Linked DNA regions of Homo sapiens: region 2 is linked to region 1. Evidence: promoter capture Hi-C in 16 types of primary human blood cells and fetal thymus (Javierre and others, 2016). All regions are on one chromosome and are shown on one strand. The core of a region is centred on a gene start or on the middle of the fragment in contact, and the rest is flanking DNA. Distances in the headings are between cores, read along the strand shown. Region 1 holds the start of PRICKLE2-AS2 (PRICKLE2 antisense RNA 2). Region 2 has its middle 87 kb from the start of PRICKLE2-DT.

Region 1 (2,700 bases), core at 201-2,700:
GGCAAGTACACAGTTATTGCTCATCTTTGGTCAACATTGGCCTTTCTGTTCATGCCCTGCATGCAAGAAGACCCTGGAGGAAAATCTGAGTTAATGAATCAGAAGAGAGGCATTTCTCCTCTCTAGAGTGAGCAGGTAGTATTTCCAGTCCCACCCACACATAGTCCAGGGGAATGAATGGCTTACATTTAGGTGAAACTGATAGTAGATGCTGGGCTTGTGCAACAGGACCCTCCTGCTCTGATCAAGCTCTTTTGTTTTTCAAGGGGGTGCCTCAGGTTATCCCGAGCTTTCCCGGGATGCAGAAGCCTGATACCAGAAGGCAGTACACCTCCCAGCAGAATAGAAGCTGCTCTTCTTCGAGGTCACCTCCTCACGGAAATAGGAATCTGTTCACAAGCAGGATGCTCTCAAAAACATTTCACTTCTGGGCTTATGAAAGACAGGTTCGGGAAAACAGCATGCTGGGGAATTAATAGTATTTGCTAAGTTATTTATGCTGACCCTAATTCTACTCAAGAGCTAGGTTGGAAAGCCCTGCAAAGATCATTGTGTCCACCTTTTGTTTCTAGACATGAGTTTGAAGATGTTTTCTTTCCTTTCTTACTAGAGTTCATCCACTCAAACCACTCATTCATCATCTTAGGTTGTTATCCTCTCCTCTCTGCTTTCATATTGGGGAGGCTCTGGAAGTGATTAGGCTGTTGTAAATCGGCTTTTATGATTTGTATGTAAGAGATAAGCAGCAGAGTAAGCAAGCGATTGGAGGCCCCAGCTGCTATTGCCCTGACAGTTATCCCAGGAACGAAATTGAAACAAAAAATTACTGGAGTATATGATATTTAGCTGATTAATTTCTTTATAGGCATATCCAATGTTAAAATTTGACCCTTTAACAAACATTGTTTTATTTTTTATTTATTTATTTGTTTATTTTTTGGAGACAGGGGCTCGCTCTGTTGCCCAGGCTGGAGCACAGTTGCACAATCTCGGCTCACTGCAGCCTCCACCTCCTGGGCTCAGGTGATACTGCCACCTCAGTCTCCCAAGTAGCTGGGACTACAGGCACGCACCACCATGCCCAGCTAATTTTTGTATTTTTAGTAGAGACAGGGTTTCACCATGTTGCCCAGGTTTGTCTTGAACTCCTGAGCTCAAGCAGTCCACCCTCCTTGGCCTCCCAAAGTGCTGGGATTACAGGCATGAGCCACCACACCTGGCCAAACGTTGCTTTACTTTTACTCCATTTTATTGAGATATAATTTACACAGAATAAAGCAAACCAATATTAAAACTACATCTCAGTGAATTTTTACACATGTGTATTGTTTTACAGCCACCATCCAGATTTAGTTATAGAACAATTGCAGTGCCCTAGAAGCCTTCTTCATACCCCCTCCTCCCACTGCCCTGACCTGTATCACTATAGATAGCCTCAGCCTGTTCTTGAACTTCATATAAATGGAATCATACAGCACATATTCTTTTTGCATGTCCAAGCATTTTCTATGAGATACATCCATGTTCTTGGGTGTAGTTATTCGTTCTCATTATTGTGTAATATTCCATTTTATCAGGGTTTCTTCTGAGACTGTTGACAGTTTGGTTTGGAAAATTCTGTGTGGAGGCAAGGAAGCCATCCTTCACACTGTAGGATGTTTAGCAACATCTCTGGCCTCTACCTACTAGACGCCAGGAGAATCCCATCCTAATAGTGACAACCAAAAATGTGTCCAGATGTTTCCAAATTTCCTTCAGAATTAAAAACCATCATATCAGATGAATATATTCTAATGTTAAAGAAACTTTTTATTTGGAAATAATTTCAGACTTAAAAAAAGTTATAAAAATAGAACAAACAACACCTGTAATGTACTCTTTACGTAGATTGATCCATTGTTAACCTTTTGCCACATTTGTTCTTTCATGTTCACATGCATGCACACACACGCACACACACACACATTTTATTTATAAACCATTTGAGAGCAAATTGCATCCATCTGGGCCATTTACCACCATATCCTTCCATATATATTTCCCAAGAGTAAAGATCTTCTCCCACATTATCACCATTATTAATTGACCACAGTAAATTTAGCATAATACTTTTATCTATTGCCCATGTTCCATTTTTTTTTCAGTTGACCAAAAGTTATCCTTTATAGAGGCAGTCCCCAACCTTTTTGGCACCAGGGACCGGTTTTATGGAAGATAATTTTTCCACAGACTGGGGCCAGGGGGTGGGGATGGCTTTGGGATGGTTCAAGTGCATTACATTTATTATGTACTTTATTTCTATTATTACTACATTGTAATATATACTGAAATAATTACACAACTCACTTTAAGGTAGAGTCAGTGGGAGACCTGAGCTTGTTTTCCTGCAACTAGACAGTCCCATCTAGGGGTAATGGGAGACAGTTATGGATCATCAGGCATGAGATTCTCGTAAGGAGCACACAACCTAGATCCTGCATGAGCAGTTCACAACAGGGTTTACACTCCTATGAGAGTCTAATGCTGCTGCTGATCTGTCAGGAGGCAGAGGTCAGGCAGTAGTTGGAGCAATGGGGAGTGGCTGTACATGCAGATGAAGCTTCCCTTACTGACCACTCACCTCCTTCTGTGTGGCCCTGCTCCTAACCAGTCTGTAGCCTGAGGTCTGGGAACCCCTACTTTATAGCATTTAGTTTCCCT
Region 2 (2,700 bases), core at 77-2,576, 260 kb before region 1:
AATTTCTGGCAAGGCATTATCAAAAACCTGAAAAATATTCATGCCCTTTGACTCCACATTGTCATTTCCAGGAATTCTTGATAAGGAAATAATCCAAAAAGAGGAAAAAGAAAAAAAAGAAAAAAAAACTGTATCACTTAGGTATTTATAGCAATGCTATTTTTTCATAATTATGAATTGGAAATAACAAAAATATTTAGCAGTGAGGTTATGAAATGGTCTAGCAATAGGGGACTGGAGTATTAATCAAAATAATTTAGCGATTAACAATGATGTTTACAAAGAGTTTTATGAAATGGGGAAAGCTTATGATATATTGATAAATGAAAATTGTATATTTGTTCCTATTATTTTAAAAACATTTAAAAAATACAGGAAGAAAATATGCCAAAATTCTAATGATGGTTGTGTCTGGGTGGTGGAAACTCTCCCCACCCCCACCTTTTTTTAAAATTTCTTGCATACTTAGTTTGTTTAACTCTGCTCTATTCAGCAGTTTTTCAAAAATTAATATTGATTAAATGCCAATGATGTATCAGCATTGATTTATTGTAGCTCTATTTGTGTTAGAAGTATTTTAGTTTTTATATGTTCATTGATTGATTACAGCACTGAGAGTTGCTTTCTCATGACTGCTCAGTGGAGTGTCTTTCAGCTGATGAGGACTAACGTGTCCTTGTTTTGAATGAAACTCTGGGTTTCTCTATCGACTTAGCTGGTAGCAACCATCCCCAGCAGCCTGGACAAAAGTGCACCAGCAGGAGATCCACCTGCATGGGTCCCTGTAGGTGGCCTCACTGTCAGGGTGGGGCTCGGGGATCTGATGGCTGCAGGGCTTCAATGACACAATTGCAATGTGAAAGTTTAAGAGGTTTTATTACTTACAGACCCTGGTGGCACACAGCAAGCCTGGAGGCCGCCACACACAGGGAGTTCAGGGAGCCCAGGCAGGGAGACAGAAGACAATGTGGCAACCATCTATACATATTTGGGAATAGATGTGGGTCACTTTAAGTTCACAGGCACATGCCTAAATGGTTCATGTAAGGGAAATTGCAGGGAAAGCTGGAAGCCCAGTCTGCTAGGTGGGCTAAGTTCTTATCTCTGCTAAGTTCTTACCTCTGGCTCCTGGCTTGAGCCATTTGGGTGTGGTATAGAACTGGAAACTGTCAAAAGTGACACTGAGCTCTGTCTCTGGCATGAGAGAGTTAAACTTATATTTAGAATGGATGCCAAGGCAACATAAAATTATAAGCATTCAGCACAGCCCTTCTATGCTTTCCACAGTACGAATATGCTGTCAGTCTGTGACTTCTCCATCCTTCTCCCCTGCCATTACTGCATGGTCTCATGACACTATGGCCCTGTGATATCAGGAAAGGGCCGCAAAAAATGGTGCTAAAGGTGCCGTGAAGATGCCAAGGAAATCTATAAACAATAGATGTAAAAAATGCAAAATTCACAGGAAACTGCTCTTTAGGAAGTGGCCAGGAAAACAGCATGAAAATCAACTGGTGATAGGGCTGTGGTGATAGGGCTGTGGTGCAAGTCACCTAGCATCCTGCGGGCACCACAAACATCACAGCTGGAAGAATTAACTAACCATTGTGTAGAAAAGTAAGTGGAGGGTATGAGAAAATATAGCTAGAGAAATGACATGGCTTTGAGGGCTTAGAATACACAGAGGAGGGTTGCCAGCGTGCTGATGCAGAACTTTATCTCCATAAGTCCTGGGCTATAAGGATCCCGTATAAGTGGCTTAGTTAGCCCTTCTATTTCTAGGAATTCATTTTCCAAACATGGTGAGTATACACACACACACACACACACACACACACACACACACACCCCAAATTTGCTAAAACTGGCTATGCACATGAGTTTTATATTGGGGAGTGAGGTCACATATTTTTAAAACAAGGGAAGAACAGAGGAAGGAAGGATGGAAAAGAAGGAGAGAGAGAGGGCAGGAGACAAGGAGAAAGAGAGAAAGAAGGGGTTGGGGGGAAAGAGAGAGGAAGAGAGGGAAGAAAATGGACAGACAAAAACAAGAAAGTGCTTTTCCAGTGAACTGTCAATGTCACACCCTGGTTTCAGGTGGTTGTTTTGGATCTGCTGGACAAGTATGGTTTGGAAACTGAAAGTTAGGTGAGTTCATGATTTTGTAGATTGTAGATGTCACCTGGCTGGGACCTGGGGAAATCACTGTCACATGAAAAGAGCTTGTTTCTGTAAATGTGCATTTGGGATGTGGGCCTTGTTCTAACCTTGGGTGACCCTCAGCTGCTTTGGCCTCAGTTTTCTCATCTATAATGTAAAGGGTTTGGAAAGTGATCTTCAAGCTTCTTCCAGTGATTTTGTGGCCCAATATGAGTTATCTGGAGATCTTCTCAACTTTGCAAGAGAAGGAAACAAGCCTTATTCTGCCAGTAGCCCTGGAGTTAACATGTTTCTTCTGGTATAAGTAAGACTTCCATGAACTGTGGTTGGGTGCCTGAATAAGCAGAGTCACCTCAAGATGATCTTTTTTTAGATATTTGCAAGAGGTTTTAATAGCTCCACAAATAGTTGGAGGTCAAAATAAGGATATTTACAACATGGACTATGGTAAATTAAATGTCATGCCTTGTCAACATTCATCCTCTCAGAGGTCCTGTGAGGTAGGTATATCATTATACCCATATTATGGAGCTCTAAAGA

The links. The method cuts DNA at HindIII sites, captures the fragments that hold promoters and counts their contacts. A CHiCAGO score of 5 or more calls a contact.
Region 2: a contact is called between a fragment that was not itself captured here and the fragment with the promoter of PRICKLE2-AS2 in region 1, in 1 of 17 cell types (megakaryocytes). The highest score is 5.3, in megakaryocytes.

The regions. Positions count from the first base shown.
Region 1 is chr3:64,102,220-64,104,919 of GRCh38, reverse strand. It overlaps PRICKLE2-AS2 (PRICKLE2 antisense RNA 2), which reads right to left and starts at 1,450. Exons shown (of 4, transcript NR_046701.1): 1 at 1,416-1,450; 2 at 187-427. All of the region lies in intron 7 of PRICKLE2 (prickle planar cell polarity protein 2), which reads left to right. PRICKLE2-AS1 (PRICKLE2 antisense RNA 1) reads right to left here. Exons shown (of 3, transcript NR_045697.1): 3 at 1,789-2,700. The HindIII fragment of the contact is 2,788 bases long and covers 1-2,601 here.
Region 2 is chr3:64,357,139-64,359,838 of GRCh38, reverse strand. No RefSeq gene overlaps it. Among named protein-coding and RNA genes, the nearest start is that of PRICKLE2-DT, 87 kb to the left of the region's middle. The HindIII fragment of the contact is 2,037 bases long and covers 308-2,344 here.